4 separate regions of the Homo sapiens genome follow, and regions 1, 2 and 4 are each linked to region 3. The links are contacts of gene promoters, found by promoter capture Hi-C in blood cells and fetal thymus (Javierre and others, 2016). All regions are on one chromosome and are shown on one strand. The core of a region is centred on a gene start or on the middle of the fragment in contact, and the rest is flanking DNA. Distances in the headings are between cores, read along the strand shown. Region 1 has its middle 29 kb from the start of LINC02129. Region 2 has its middle 49 kb from the start of C16orf82. Region 3 holds the start of IL4R (interleukin 4 receptor). Region 4 overlaps LINC02129 (long intergenic non-protein coding RNA 2129).

Evidence for each region. The method cuts DNA at HindIII sites, captures the fragments that hold promoters and counts their contacts. A CHiCAGO score of 5 or more calls a contact.
Region 1: a fragment that was not itself captured here is called in contact with the fragment with the promoter of IL4R in region 3 in 8 of 17 cell types (naive CD8 T cells, total CD4 T cells, activated CD4 T cells and 5 more); the score reaches 9.8 in naive CD8 T cells.
Region 2: a fragment that was not itself captured here is called in contact with the fragment with the promoter of IL4R in region 3 in 1 of 17 cell types (total B cells); the score reaches 5.1 in total B cells.
Region 4: a contact is called between a fragment that was not itself captured here and the fragment with the promoter of IL4R in region 3, in 6 of 17 cell types (non-activated CD4 T cells, naive CD8 T cells, total CD4 T cells and 3 more). The highest score is 7.6, in non-activated CD4 T cells.

Annotation. Positions count from the first base shown.
Region 1 is chr16:27,145,092-27,149,312 of GRCh38, reverse strand. No RefSeq gene overlaps it. Among named protein-coding and RNA genes, the nearest start is that of LINC02129, 29 kb to the left of the region's middle. The HindIII fragment of the contact is 249 bases long and covers 2,821-3,069 here.
Region 2 is chr16:27,114,176-27,118,040 of GRCh38, reverse strand. No RefSeq gene overlaps it. Among named protein-coding and RNA genes, the nearest start is that of C16orf82, 49 kb to the right of the region's middle. The HindIII fragment of the contact is 1,446 bases long and covers 1,722-3,167 here.
Region 3 is chr16:27,312,326-27,316,585 of GRCh38, reverse strand. IL4R (interleukin 4 receptor) reads right to left here and starts at 2,612. Exons shown (of 11, transcript NM_000418.4): 1 at 2,566-2,612. RefSeq lists silencers at 1,872-1,921, 2,362-2,571, 2,592-2,891 and enhancers at 2,669-3,399, 4,222-4,260. The HindIII fragment of the contact is 16,225 bases long and covers 1-4,260 here.
Region 4 is chr16:27,161,888-27,165,565 of GRCh38, reverse strand. All of the region lies in intron 2 of LINC02129 (long intergenic non-protein coding RNA 2129), which reads left to right. Among named protein-coding and RNA genes, the nearest start is that of LINC02129, 13 kb to the left of the region's middle. The HindIII fragment of the contact is 1,937 bases long and covers 791-2,727 here.

The DNA.
Region 1 (4,221 bases), core at 1,696-4,195, 170 kb after region 3:
TTTGTATTTTTGGTACAGACTGGGTTTCACCATGTTAGCTAGGATGGTCTCAATCTCTTGACGTCGTGATCCACCGACCTCAGCCTCCCAAAGTGCTGGGATTACAGGTGTGAGCCACTGTGCCCGGTCTTTTTTTTTTTTTTTTTTTTTTTTTTGATACAGGGTCTCATTCTGTTGCCCAGGCTGGAGTGCAATGGCACGACTGTGGCTCACTGCAACCTCTGCTTCCCCAGCTCCAGGGATCCTCCTGCCTTTGCCTCTCAAGTAGCTGGGACTACCGGCATGCACCATGACACCTGGCTAATTTTTGTATTTTTTTGTAGAAATGGAGCTTTGCCATGTTGCCCAGGGTGGTCTGAAACTCCTGGGCTCAAGTGATCTGCCTGCCTTAGCCTCCCAGTGGGATGGTTTAAGGAGGAGAAGTGACAAGTGCCTTTAAGGCACTTAACACTGGGCCTCACACCTGGAAGTTGCCCTATAAGTGGCAAATATTGTTTTTTGTTATGAATATTATTATCACCTAATCAAGGTGGATTACTTGGGAGAGAGCTCCTGGGCTGAGGCTGGCTTTCCTCCTCCCAAGAGTGAACACTCTGGGGGTTTAAGGAAGACTGCCTTTTGCCCTACCTGCACATATATCTTTGCTGCAGTGTCAGCTACGTGGCCAAACTGACTTACCATGTGGTTTATGGCCTCCATTTTCCCATATATGAAATGAGGGGTTTCCAAATGACAAATAGTTTTCAAATTATGCACTTTCTCTGATTGATTGCTAATGTCTGTTGGGAGCTGTGACTCCTGATTCTTGCCCCATCCAGGCTCATCAGGAGAAAGTGTCATAGTTGATTAATGATGACTGCAGTGTATGTGAGACAGGAGAATGAAGTGTATTTTTTGACACCAACGAGGGGTCTTTTAGGGGTATCCTGGGGATACTAAGATTCAGTCAGTTTGTGGATTTCTGACCTGACAAGTCTATATATTAGCTTTAGTGTTGTGGGTGTTTCAGGGTGGAGCTCAGGATGGGGAATGAACATTATTCATCTTCATATTCTCAAGACCTAGTGAGGAATCTCCAACCCTGGGCTCAGGAGATCCTCCCACCTCAGCCTCCCAAGTAGCTGGGATTATAGGTGCGTGCCACTGTGACCAGTCCAAGTGAGAGTCTCAATTCTCAAATGGTGTGTAAGGAGAGGAGCATAGATTTGTGGTCACAGAGACCTGGAATTCCACCCCAGAGCTGTTGTTGGCCAGCTGTGTGATTGTGCAGCAGTGATCACTATTGAGTGCTGTGTGTGCTGAGTATTCTGGCTGTATTAGTCCATTCTCATATTGCTACAAAGAAATACCCAGAGCTGGGTAATTTATAAAGAAAAGAGGTTTATTTGGCTCACGGTTCTGTGGCAGTACAGGAAGCATAATGCTGACATCTGCTCAGCTTCTAGGGAGGCCTCGGAGTTTTACTCATGGCAGAAGGTGAAGGGGCAGCAGGCACGTCACACAGTGAGAGCAGAAGCAAAAAGCCAGGGTGCTACACACTTTTATGACCAGATCTCACGAGAACTCACTGTCACGAATACAGCACCAAGCCATGAGGGATCTGCCCCCCGTGATCCAAATGCCTCCCACCAGGCCCCACCTCCAGCATCGGGGATTACAATTCAACATGAGATTTGGACAGGGACAAATTTCCAAACTATATCACTGGCTCTCCCACTTCTGGAGAATTAGGAAGGATGGTTGGGTAGGATCATATGACTAGCTCTGACCAATGAGGATGGAGCAGAAGTGAGCTCCTTCAGAGGTCTCTTTCCTACTCTGGTAATGACCGAATAACTGCTCCAGACAGAGCTGCTCCATCAGCCTGGAGCCTGGAGTGGCAGCGTTGTGGGGGCTCCTTGGGAAGAACACTCTAGACGGAGACTAACGTGTGAAGTTTACCAGGCTGTGTTCTCAGTACCTGCACTCACGTGGGAGGAAGAAAGCCCAACTGGGCAGACAGAGGAGTGGGCTCCACAAAGAGCTCTGAGACTTGTGGTCCTTCAGTCATGTCCCAAGTTGCAGCAATAATCTGGGCTTTTATACCCTCATGTCAACAGCTCACTGGATGTGAGCTACCCCTATGGAAGGGGAGAGGTAATTCCAGCACTTTGGGAGGCTGAGGTGGGTGAATCGCTTGAGCCCAGGAGTTTGAGACCAGCCTGGGCAACAGGGCGAAACCCCATCTCTATAAAAAATACAAAAAAATTAGCTGGTGGTGCAAGCCTGTAGTCCCAGTTACTTGGGAGGCTGAGCTGGGAGGATCACTTGAGCCTGGGAGTTCGAGACTGCAGTGAGCTGTGATTGTGCCACTGCACTCCAGCCTGAACAATACAGCAAGACCCTATCTCAAAAAAAAAAAAAAAAAAAAAAAAAAGGAAAGAAAGAAAGAAAAAGAAAGAAAGGGAGGTGATCTTGGGTGAGAGGGAGCTCTTCATCCGAGGGTAATTCCTACAGAGGGCTGACAGCTGAGGGCCATGGGGGAACTCTAGCAGCTGGGGGAATATAACAGAGGCATGCAGGAGTTTTCTAAGCCAGCGATTAACTGCAGCCATCATTAAAAATTAAATTATGTAAATTTATAGCTAAACACATTTTATTAAAAACAAAGGAAAGAAATACCCCAAACCCACCACTTCTTGTTTTATTGCATTTTACTACTCTCTAAGTTTTTGAATGTATTTATGTCCATTGTATCTGTAAGATGGAAATATTACATAACAGTGTGTGAACACACACTTCTTTCCCTGTTCTGCATGCAGTGACCTCACTGTGCAAGCTTGACATTGGCCATTTCGGAAGCATTTATACCACCAAAAATGGGCAAACACTACAAATCAGGTCTCTATGAATTGTTTGGGTTCTTGTATAGACGTGAGAAAGCAATAGAAGAAAAAGCAAATTAAACTGAAAAGTGTCATATTGGTAGCTGTTACATTGTGAATAGCAAAAAAACATTATAGAGTCATTCATTGGAACTCTAGGTGGGCTATGGATGTCAGAGTTGTATAATAAAAATCAACAAAAGCTTTCCGTGAGAATCATTTGGCTATAGACAATTTTCAATAAAGAGTTTGTATATTTTATTACTATTTATAAACTGTGTACAATACATCTTTTATCAGTAAAATTTATAATAAAGATATGTATACACACATGCGTGTTCGTGCACACACACACACACACACACACAGACACTGTCTACCCTCACAGAACTGTTATTAATCATTCACCAACACATCACTGGGGACTATATTGGTCCTTCTTCCTTATGGGGTTGTCTCAGCAGTGGAGGAACCTGTCCACTAGAGAAGGTGGCCTGGAACAGAGTCACTGTCAAGCCCTGATGGACATTTAGTTTGAGTGAGAGCTAATCTTATGGTCTCTGTTATTTCACCCCACTGAGATTTTTGGGATTGTTTGTTATAGCAGCATAACCTAGCCTATGCTGACTGATACACTTAAGTAAAGGCACTTAATTCACTGGGTCATAGTTTCTTCACAATAGTTCCTTGTAGGGTTTCAGAGAGAACCAGAGGTGATGTCTATGTTTTCTTTGGCATTCAGTGGGCACTAATAATCTCAGCTGTTTTCATCGATAGCAGTGTCTTAGTACATGACTCATATTGATTTGTTTACCTGATGGGAAATTCCTACAAGCCATCTTTGTACAGTTGGACATGAGGACACAGCTCTTTGTCTCTATCTCTCTCTCTCTCTCCTCTGTCTACATTCTCTCCACCGTTCTCTGTGTCTTTCTCTGCATTTATGTCTGGGTCCAAATCACAATCCAGAGGACTGAACCAAAGGCCACCAGTCTCAGCTGGGATGGGCAGCTCTTCGGGATCCTGGGGTGTTCACTGCCCAGTTATTGTGGCTGCAGTGGCTCTGTCCCTTGGTCTCCTGAGTGGAATAAAATTCAACCCCAAGGAACAGTGGTAGAGGAGGACTATAAAGGTTAATGTCCTGAGAAATAGCCTGGAGGTAGCGGCAGCAGGCAGGAATAACAATTTTAATACAAAATAAAAACGGGTGGATGAATTGCTGCAAGGCCTGGTGGTGCCTTGCACAGGTCTGAGCAGCACACACAGCAGCTGGGGCCAGAGGCTGGGGGAGAGTCGGTCACTGAACCTCAGCCTCTGACGGGCACACTGGCACCCTGGGTGATTGTACGCTGCAGCC
Region 2 (3,865 bases), core at 1,195-3,694, 200 kb after region 3:
CATGCCCGCCTAACTTTTGTATTTTTGGTAGAAATGGAGTTTTGCCATGTTGACCATGCTGGTCTCGAACTCCTGACCTCAAGTGATTTGCCCGCCTCAGCTTCCCAAAGTGCTGAGATTACAGGCGTGAACCACCACGCCCGGCCTTTCTTTGAAAAACTTTTGACTAATGTTGGGCCTTCTCAGTTGGGACCCTTATTTCCTTTCTCCTACTCTCCTCCCTTACTGTTTCCTATTCTTCTTCCTTCTCTCTTCCTCCTCCCCTCCCCATGCATTCAGCTAATTCCGTCTCTGATTACCCAACATCACTCTGGGCTCTGCTGGAAGACTCAGAGCCTATAAAGCTTCAGAGGGGCCTCAGTGTTATTTTAGTCAGGCAAACTCCACAGGTAGGAGTTACTTCTCCACACCTCTGACAGTGTCACTTGCATACCTGCAGGAATAGGAAACTCGCTTCCTTTCATGGTAGTCCTTTCCATCACTGGGCAGCTCCATCTAAGAGGCACTTTCTCTTGTGATTAATCAGACAACATTTACACCCCCAGTCATTTCTACTCTTCCCCATGCAGAGTTCTTGCAGAATAGCTGTCCCTGATAAGGACAGCCCTTCCGAGGCCCAGGAAGAAGTCTCAAGGCTTCTCAGGCTCATTCAAGTCGCAAGACACACACACACCCAATGGAGGATTCTGGCAACGTACCATGTGGTAGAAATGTCAGTCCACATCTCAGGTGCATGGGAAATATCACTCTCTTTATTCATTCACTTCACACTATGGTTGGGATGTTTGTCTCCTCCAAATCTCATGTTGAAATGTGATTCCCAATGTTAAAGGTGGTGCCTAGTGGGAAATGGGGGCAGATCCCTCATGAATGTCTTGGTGCCCTCCTGGTGGTAATGAGTGAGTTCTCATTCTATTCATGTGAGATCTGGCCGTTAAAAATTTAGAGCCTGGGAAAGATGGTGACCAGAGGCTGCGAAGGGTAGTGGGGGGTGCCGGTTGGTGGCGGGGAGGAGTTGGGAAGGCTAATGAGTACAAAAATAGTTAGAAAGAATGAATAAGGGCCAGGTGCAGTGGCTCATGGCTGTAATCCCAGCACTTTGGGAGGCCAAGGCGGGTGGATCACTTGAGGTCAGGAATTCAAGACCAGCCTTGCCAACATAGTGAAACCCCATCTCCACTAAAAATACAAAAATTAGCCAGGTGTGGTGGTGGGTGCCTGTAGCTCCAGCTACTCAGGAGGCTGATGCAGGAGAATCACTTGAACCTGGGAGGAGGAGGTTGTAGTGAGCTGAGGTCATGCCACTGCATTCCAGCCTGGGCAACAGAGCGAGACTTCATCTCAAAAAAAAAAAAAAAAAAAAAAAAAAAGGAGAATTAGACCTAGTATTTGATAGATTTGATAGCACAACAGTGTGACTATGGTCAATAATAATTTAATTACACATTTATAAATAACTAAAAGAGTGTAATTGGCTTGTTTGTAACACAAAGGATAAATGCTTCCAATGATGGATCCCCCGTTTACCTTGATAGGATTATTATGCATTGCCTGCCTGTATCAAAATCTCTCATGTACCCCATAAATATATACACTACTATGTACCCACAAAAGTTGAAAAATTAAAGGAAGAATAGAGTCTAGGACCTCCCATGTCTCTCTTGCTCCCTCTCATCATGTGACACGTTGGCTCCTCTTCCTCTCTGCCATGATTAAAAGCTTCCTGAGGCCTCACCAGAAACTGAGCAGATGCTGGCACCATGCTTGCACAGCCTGCAGAACCTTGAGCCAAATAAACCTCCTTTCTTTTAATAAATTACCCAGCCTCAGGTATTCCTTTACAGCAATGCAAAATGGACTAACAAAGTTCATAACCATGTTTAATTTGTGTCCATTCTTCCAATCAATTTAGGTTTCCTTACATTCCTTGGGGTTACCCCTAAGTTCGGCAGGGGCGGAGGTCAGGGTGTTGGGGAGGGGACATCCATGATTTTCTGAGATTCTCAGCCAGTCTTTGACGTCAGGCCATGCGTGCTGCTGTGGCGCTGTGTATAACTGCATCCAAGTCTGAGGGATGCTCCTTGCTGCCCTCGAATGCCAACTCCTGGGTGCATTGAGATCAGGTGGGTGCCCATGCTAAGTTCAATGAGATGCACTGGGAAGTTACTGAGCTTTTCTTTCCTTTTCTTTTTCTTTTCTTCCTTTTTTTTTTTCTTGTTTTTTTTGAGGCGGAGTCTCACTCTATCGCCTAGGCTGGAGTGCAGTGGCATCATCTCGGCTCACTGCAACCTCCACCTCCCAGGTTCAAGTGATTCTCCTGCCGCAGCCTCCTGAATAGCCGGGATTACAGGGATGCGCCACCATGCCCAGCTAATTTTTGTCTTTTTAGTGGAGAGGGGGTTTCACCACATTAGCCAGGCTGGTCTCAAACTCCTGACCTCAGGTGATCCACCTGCCTCAGCCTCCCAAAATGTTGGGATTACAGGCATGAACCACCACGCCCAGACAATTACTGAATTTTTCTGAACCCTCCTGAGTCCTTCACCACGTCCACATTGCTCTTACACGCCTGGGACTCCTGCACTGCTCCACACCAGCTTGTGCATGGAGAGCTCTGGAAGCCTCTCCCAGCTACATTAGTCTAGGCACCGCCCCTACCTTCACAGGTCCACCTTCCTCTCCTGATTGGGCTTCAGCCTGGGTGGGGAAGACCCGGGACCCTTTCCCAGGGACCCTTCAGCATCTCATTCTCTTTGCTGCTCTTCAAATCCCTGGCATGGGGCAGGGCAGTGCTGGCTGCCTTACGTGCCTGGGTCTCATTGCTCCTTTCCACGACCCCAGTATGTTGGGTTCCATTTGGGTTTCCTTTTTAATAGATGGCGGAACTGAGGGCCAGAGAGGCAATGGGCATAGCAGAGCCAGGAGTGAAACCCAGGTGTGTCTGAGCCCTGTGCCAAAGCTCTTTCATCAGCACCCAGCTACTTCTCAGGAAGCACAACTGGGGATGTTACTGAAGTGCGAGAATTTGTGGACCCTGAGAGGTGATGTGGAGAGATTTGAGGCAAGAAAGGCCTGATCATAACCTGGAAAAGAGACCCCAGGGCACCCTCTGCCTTCAGGGGTTCCAGAGTGAGTGTCCTCACTCTCTCCAGAGTGAACATAAAGCTTTTTTTAATTCCACAAATATTTATCAAGACCCCTTATGTTCACTACTGCCAGGACTACAGCAGTGAACAAAAAGACTAGTGGAAAAAAAGACTGCCCTTGTGTAAGTAACTCTTTTTTTTTCAAAAGACAAGATCTCACTCTGTTACCCAGGCTGGGAATACAGTGGTGAGATCATAGCTCACTGTAGCCTCCAGCTCCTGGGCTCAAACAATCCTCCCACCTCAACCTCCCATGCAGCTGGGACTACAGGCACACACCACCATGCCTGGCTAATCTTTTTTTTTTTTTTTTGTATTGTTGTAGAGATGGGGTTGTGCTATATTGCCCAGACTGGTCTCAAACTCCTGGGCTCAAGCAATCCTTCTGCCTAAGCCTCCCGAAGCACTGGGATTATAGATGTGAGCCACCATGATGCTTGGCCAGAATCAACATTGCTATAGGTATAAACAGAAACAAACCCACAAAGAACTGAAGAGGTTAATTCTGGATTGGTTATCAGTCAAGTGAAGGATATGGATGAGTGTGTGTGACAGGTGGTCAGGGAAAGCCTCCCTGAAGAGTGACATTTGGGCTGAGACCAGCTGCATAAAGATCTGGGAACAGTGTCCCAAGGTAGATGGAACAGAAAATATGTGGCACTAACGAGGCCACAGGCTTGGTGCAGCTGAGGGACAGAAAGGAGCCAGGTATGGCCAGA
Region 3 (4,260 bases), core at 1,363-3,862:
GAAAGTTCACTTTTACAAATGTGAGGAAGAACAGTACTTAGGCGGCTTCTGTCCTGGCCTCACTCCCAGGTACCAGTGAGGGCAGTCGAGAGGTGGGGCATCTAATCCCAAACGCTCTCCTCCATCGTCCCAGATGGGGTGGGTGGAAGAGGGCAGGGAGATGGGGGAGGTAGAAAAGGTTCTCTCTTCTCATGTATTTATGTATTTGTTTATTTTGAGACAGAGTCTCGCTCTGTCACCCAGGCTACAGTGCAGTGGCACAATCATAGTTCACTGCAGCCTTGACCACCTGGGCTCAAGCCATCCTCCCACCTCAGCCTCCCAAATAGCTGGGGCTAGAGGCACCTGCTACCACGCCTGGCTAAGTTTTTAAATTTTTTTTGTAGGAACAGGATCTCACTATGTTGCCCAGGCTGGTCTCAAACTCCTGGGTTCAAGCGATCCTCTCTCAGCCTCCCAAAGTGCTGGGATTACAGGTGTGAGTCACTGCGCCCAGCTTGTCACTTCTTTGACAATTCATTTCAGCTCCTTTTTGAACTGGGAGCATTAGAAAACTGAACACCCCCACCCTTGCCCTGGGCATTTTGCAACCGGGATTGTATTGTATTAAACATATCAGTCATTGAGTCACTTCCTAGCATTTGGAAACCCTTAGGTTATCTCGGACCTGCCGGTAACTGCATGTGTTGTAAATGGGGTGAGTGACTGCAGGTTTTCCTCCCTGCTGCCTCCCCAGCGTCTCCCTCCAGATTCAGATCCAGAGGCCCAGGGTGGGGCCCAGGAATCTGCATTGTTGCTTTTACAACTCAAGCCAAGGTGAATACACTGGCCCAAGTTCCTTGGCATGGCATTCAAGGCTTTCCACAATGCAGCCCAGCCCAACTTTCCATCCATCTCTGGCTTCTGCTTACTCCCTAGGTTCTGTACACAGTGCCCTTTCACACTTCCCAGCCTCCGCCCACTCTGTGCCTCCCTTTACCTCCCATCCTCTACCTGCCAGACTCCCCTGCTCTACTCACAAGGCTAGCTCAGGGTCCCTGGGTGCTGGGAAGCCTGGCCCAGTGACCTTTGAAGAGCTGATCCCCTCTGGCTTGTGGTCCTGCAGCCGCTGGTGCATCCGCACCCTCCCAGCCCTCACGTCTGTCTTCCTGCAGAGGGGGTGCTCCTTGAGGCAAGCACCAGTGCCCAGAACACCACCCAGGGCCTCGCAGGAGCTGAATGAGTGCTAGTGAGTGAATGAGTGGCTTAGCAGGTCACCTCCCATTCATGGGCTGGGCTAGCCGAGTTCTAAGAAACCCCTGCAGGACCCTGGAATGCCCTAATGTGCAGGACACCCTGGCCAAACCTACACCTGAGCCTGTTTCCCCATTGGACTTTGGGATTTTGATAAAGGCACTGAGGTCCCAGCAAATGCCTTGGGCTCCTCATAGGCTACTGGGGGCAGGGAAGTGCAGTGGGTCATGCCTCCCAGAGGGCTGGGGAAGGGGAGAGACTAGAACTGGAGCAGGGTTAGCGCTGGCCTGGGGGCATTCCTTGAACCCCAGAAGCAGACAAACTAGTGGTCCCCTATCTTGCTTAAGTCTAAGAAATCCAGATTTTGTTTAAAAAAAAAATCAGGGCTCAGTGGCTCACACCTGTCATCCCAGCATTTTGGGAGGCCGAGGTGGGAGGATCACTTGAGGCCAGCCTGGACAACATAGTGAGACACCATCTTTATAAAATAAATTTTTAAAAATAAAATAAAGATCAGATTCCTGGGTTTACTGAATCTGAATCTCAGGGCAAGGACCTGGGAATCTGCATTTTAAGCAAATCTCCCGGAGATTCTGGTTATTGTGGGGGCTCCTCAAACGTGATTGAGAGATGGAGAGCAGCTGGCTCTGGCGTGGGATTGCCTGGGCTCTAGTCCTGCTGCCCCACGGACTCCCAAGTGGGCGGCACCTTAGGGCAAGTTACTAAAGCGGCTGGGGTCTTGGTGACCTCATCTGTACAATGTCCATGACGCACAGCACCGGCCACAGAGAAGTTAGTGGGAGGTTTCACTTGGCATCCTTTCAGTAAAACAAGTCCCAGTCAATGATCGCGATTATTGGGTCCATCTGATATTCGGAGGCGGAGACCGCCCCGATTCACTGACCTACTACTCAAATTTACAGTTCTCAGAACTTTCCCCACCCTTTCTCTCTCCGAAGTCCTCACTGACTTCCTGAGCGCAGGGCTGGGCGCCACTGCCCGGAGAAGAGGGGCTGCGTGGCCTCCGACAGCCTAACCCCAAGCCCCCCACCCCCGCAGGCCGTCCCGGCGGAGGTCTCACTGCCAGCACCGGCTTTGGGGAGCGCTGGGTGTCCACGTACCCCGGGCCTCGCGCCTCCGCTGCCGTTCGGCGGCAAGGACGGAACCGGGCGCTGCTCCGCGCGCACCGAGAGTCGCGGGCTCGGGCCCCGCTCGGAGTCGGGGTGGTCCCCGTGGTCCCCGCCGGCGGCCGAGCCCTTCCCGAACGCCCTCAGCCGGCGTGCCCGGGCGATACCTTCGCAACCCGATCCGCGCGCGGGCCCCGGATCCTACCTGCGCGCCCCTGCTCCATTCGCCGTCCGGGCGCCCAAGCGGGAAGTGGGGGACCCCTGGGTGGCCCTTCCCTGGCCCGCGCCGCGCGGGGCTTTCCTGGGCGCGGAGACCCAGCCCGCCCCGGCTTCCTGCTCCCCGCCCCGGCGCCCGGCAGATTTGCATGCGCCGCCCCGCCCGGCGCGCCCGGCCCGGGTCCCGGCCACCTCGCGCCCCTGTCGCTGTCCCCGCCGCCGCCGCCGGACAGTCCGAGCCGCCGTCCTCTCCTGGGGGCGACCCCAGCACCTCGCTGGGTGTCTTGCCGCGCGCTTCCTCCCACGCCGTAGCCCGAGGTCACGCCCAGCGGAGAACTCTGCAGTGGATCCCCTTGGTCTCGGAATAAAACGCCCACGCCGACCAGGCCTCCAGGACCTGCTCCTGCCTGGCCTCCGCGGCCTCTTTTGCGCCGGGGCAGTTGCGTTTGGTGGGGGAGGGCTGGGCGACTGGAATCCTCCTCCCCTTCCTAACAGCCCGGCTTCCAAGTGAGAGTGGTTGCACATTCTTCAATAAATGTTTACCCAACTCCTACTCCAGCCACATTTGGATAGTAAAACAGCCCTTCAATCAGTAACTAGTACAATCTGTCGGGCACTGCAAATGTTAACTCGTTCAATCCTGGCAACTACCCTATAAGGGAGTGATACTATCACCGGTTTTACAAATCAGGAAACTGAGGCACAGAGTCCTTAAGAAATTCAAAATGGGTTGGGCAAAGTGGCTCATGCCTGTAATCCCAGCACTTTGGGAAGCTGAGGCGGGAGGATCACTTGAACCCCATAGTTCGAGACCAGCCTGGGCAACCCTGTTAGCGAGACCCCTATCTACAAAAATTGACATTTATAAAATTTTAAAAAAGAAAAGAAAGAAACTCAGAATCACTCTGCAGGTAAGCAGGAGCAGGGGTGGAGCTGGGATTCGAACACAGGCCCCATAGACCATTAACGTCTGGACACCATAAGAACCCGGATGCAGCCAGATGACTGGGGGGAAAACACTCAACAAAGTATTTCAGGTCAGGAGGGCCCAAGAAGAAAGTAGGGACCTCTTAGACCAGTGGGGCAGGTGGTCTGGAAGAGGCTTTTTGAGTAGAGGCCATTTGAGCTGAGACTCTGAAGAGCCTATGGGGGAAGACTTGTGTAGGGAGAGGGAAGAGCTAGTGCAAAGGCCCTGTGGGAACCAGCTCAGCCTGCAGGAGGAATTGCTGAAGGCCGGCATGGCTGTGGAGCCCTGAGTGAGGAAAGAGCGGAGACAGGGGAGGTGGGAGATATTTGGACTCACACTGGGCAGTGCTGAGAACCCAGAGAGTAATTTGACCCCCTGCTGCCCTCAAGGAGCTCTCAGTTTGAGGGTGGAAGCCAAGGACTGCCCAATGGGATCAAGTGCTGTGGTGGAGGGTGAGGGTTGGCTTCCCAGGGCAGGGGCCACTGCACGTCAATCATTCTTTTTTTTTTTTTGAAGATGGGGTCTCATTCCATTGCCTAGGCTGGAGTGCAGTGGGTGATCTCAGCTCACTGCAACCTCCACTTCCTGAGTTCAAGCAATTCTCCTGCCTCAGCCTCCTGAGTAGCTGGAATTACAAGCGTGCACCACCACGTCCGGCTCATTTTTGTATTTTTAGTAGACATGAGGTTTCACTATGTTGGCCAGGCTGGTATCAAA
Region 4 (3,678 bases), core at 510-3,009, 150 kb after region 3:
ATGCATTGCTGCTTCTGGCCAGTGTGGTTTCTTTTGAATAGCTATGAGAAGTCTCTTTATTTAGGAGCTCTGCCTCTCCATGTCAGAAGTCAGGAGTGCTGCTTTGTAGCTTTCCTTGCAGCAGGAGTACAGGACCCAGTTCTCAGGAACAGCGTGAGGAGGGGCCTGGCACTAGCAGTGGGCAGGATAGCTGTAGGGGCCTGGTTGCAGTATTCTTGCAGTGTAATTTGGGGACTTCTGGCTTTGTGGGGTCCAAGCTTGATTCTCTGGTTCTTCTGGAGACTTGATGAATGTCCTTTGATGAATGCCTTTGTGACCTAAAGCCGCCATAGTGGAGTCTGTTGCTGGCAACCAACGACTCTGACTAGGATATGGAGGTGTCTCACGAAAGTTAAGGCAGGAATATCCCTAAGTCTTAAGAAAGGCCTGGAGCTGGGAAGTGGAAAGGTATCAGCATGCCATTTCTCTCTCTTTTTTTGGGGTTGTGGTTGTTGCTGTTTCTTCATTCATCTTTCTTAGGTTGAAAATAAATTTAAAAAAGAAGCACAAGATTTCTTTTTCTTTTTTGAGGGACAGCTTTTGCTATGTTGCCCAGTCTGGTCTTGAATTCTTGGGCTCAAGGAATCTTTTTGCTTCAGCCTCCTGAGTAGCTGTGACTACAGGTGCATGCCACTGTGTCTGGCTTTCTACATCTCATCTCTGTTTCTCTCTGTCCATCCACACAGATACACTTTCTCAGATTTTCTGTTCATATGGAGGCCATATTTCACAGCCCCCAAGGCTACAAGCTTCAACCATTACAGAAATTAGCCCCGTTTATCTTGGCCTCAGCACTAAATTCTTATGAGAAATAAATCTGGTTGGCTCAATTTGGGTCAGTTGGCCATGCCTGGTCTAATCACTGTGTCCAGGGAGTAGAATTACACAGTGCAAATATTTCTGATAAGGTCCCTCCCATTGGCAGTTTCCAGGGAAGGAGAATTGATCCTGAGCTGGAACAGATATCCCCAAGGGTCTACCATAATCAAGAAAATTTCTATAGTTAAAGCCAAAGAGGCTACTCAGCTCTTTCTGGCAGCTCCACCCTGTGGGAGGCTGTCTCATTCCAGGGTTGGAGAGAGCTGAAATTAAAGACAGAAAGAGCAGTTTCAGCAAACACTGGAACACATGGGGCCCAAGTGGCTCTGATATGAGGCCACTGTGACATAGTACATTTTAAAAAATCTGGCTGGGTGCAGTGGCTCATACCTCAAATCCCAGTTATGCAGGAGGCTGAGGTGGGAGGATCATGTGAGGCCAGGAGTTCAGGATCAGCCTGGGCAACACAGAGAGACCCTGTCTCTAAAAACATAAAAAAATTAGTTAGGTGTGGTGTCACACGCCTGTAGTCCTTGCTACTCAGGGAGGCTGAGGCAGGAGGATCAAGTGAGCCCAGGAGTTCAAGGCTGCAGTGGGCTATGATTGCAGTGGGAAGACTCTATCTCTAAAAAAGAAAAACAAACAAACAAACAAATGGTTTTCCTCCCCTACTTCCCTTCCCTGCTGCAGAGCACCACACAGCAGTGATGTCGGGAGGTATGGGGTGATGGGGGGTACCTGGTGAGGTAGCAGCTGATCCCAGGGGGCTCACTTTTCACTTTGTGAGTACATGCAGGTACCCTTTGGGTAATCTCCTAAATACTGATGGTGGAAAAATAGGACTCTTGAGGCCAAAGATTCTTTTAAAAGCAGGGAAATCCAAGTCACTACTGAGAACAAGGCAAGTAGGCCCGGGAGCCCACCCCAGGTGTGATGATCATTTACTCAACATCTGCTGTTTCCCAGGCATGCAGCAGGGATGCTCCACTCTCCTCAAACACCAGGATCCCAGTGCAACTTGCCATTTTGCTTTATCCACAGTAGCGTACAGAGCTGTAAATAGCTGCAGAATTCAAAGCAAGAAGAACAAGAAAATCTTTGGGTCAGTTTTGTAGAAACAAAGTGAAACATAATGTTTCATAGAATACAGGCTACTCTGAGGAAGAAATGCCATGCCCTTTTGAATAAGAGGCTTAACCCATGGGGAGCTCAACACATCAGTGTGGGGGTGGCTCATCCATATGTTACTCAATACTACGGTTTTGTTCTAGGTCTCATTGTCTGCTGCACAGAAAGCCAATCACTGAGACAACAAGTATTGCCATGGAAGAAGGCTTTATTATATTCAATGTTTATACTATTATATTTATCATATATTATTTATATTACATATTACAGGCGATGTCAGCTGGAGAGAGGGAGACAAACCTCAAGTCCATCTCTCCCCTCCAACTAAAGTTAGGGGTTTATATAGTGGGGAAGAAAAACAAGTGGGATAAGGAAGAGAAGCTGGTCAACAGGCAGCAGGCATTTTTTTTTTTTTTTTTGAGACAGTGTTTCCATCTGTTGCCCAGGCTGGAGTGCAATGGCACGATCTCGGCTCACCACCACCTTCGCTTCCTGGGTTCAAAAGAATCTCCTGCCTCAGCCTCCCAAGTAGCTGGGATTACAGGCACCTGCCACCATGTTTGGCTAATTTTTTGTATTTTTTGTAGAGATGGGGTTTCATCATGTTGGCCAGGCTGGTCTCAAACTCCTGACCTCAGGTGATCCACCTGCCTTGGCCTCCCAAAGTGCTGAGATTACAGGCATGAGCCACCATGCCCGGCCCAGACACATCTTATTATACAAATGTCAGTTTATTAAGCTTCAGTTCTATGGGCATCCAGATTGTTGGAAAATGGGGCCAGTTTTGCATATGCAAAGTCCATGCATGTGCAGTGAGAAGCACTGACCCTTCCCTCTTACCTATCTGGGGACCTGCCTGCTGGGAATGGGAGGGTCTGGTGATGTTTCCTCCTGGCAGGTGCCCAGGAGCCTTGGCTTCCATCCTGATGTCTGCCTGCAGCTCTCAGTCACTCCACTTTCTTCTCTGAGTCTCCAAAGTCAACACACACCTTCTATTCCTGGAATTTTAACTGTGCTGACCCTTTGGCTTTTCCCACACTCTTGTTCAACTTCTTCCCACTCATTCTTCAAGACTCCTCCTCCAGCATTCTTTCTGTGGCAGACACTTGAAATTACCTACCCAATATTCATTTCTTCCTTCCAATATTAATTTTGTAATTTTTGATTTTTAAATTTAAATTTAATTTTTATTTTATTTTAAATTAATTTTTTTGAGACAGTGTCTTGCTCTGTTGCCCAGGCTGGAGTGCGCTGGCATGATCACGGGTCACTGCAGCCTTGATCTCCTGGGTTTCAGTGAGTCTCTAGCTTTAGTCTCCCCAAATACTGTGATGATGGGCATGAGCCACAGCACTTGACTAATTTTTTTATTTTTTGTAGAGATAAGGTCTCTCTATGTTGCCCACACTGGTCTTGAATTCCTGGGCTCAAGAGATCCTCCTGCCTTGGCCTCCCAAAGTGCTGGGATTAGAGGTGTGAGCCACTGTGCCCAGCCCCTTATGATATACCCAGTTCACAGGGTGAACACCCCTAATCCAAAAAGTCAAGATCCAAAATACTCCAAAACCTAAAACTTTTTGAGCGCTGACATGATGGCACATGTGGAAAATTCCAGACCTGACCTCATGCGACTGGTCACAGTCAAAACACAGTCTGAGCTTTGTTTCCTGCATAAAATTATTTAAAATACTA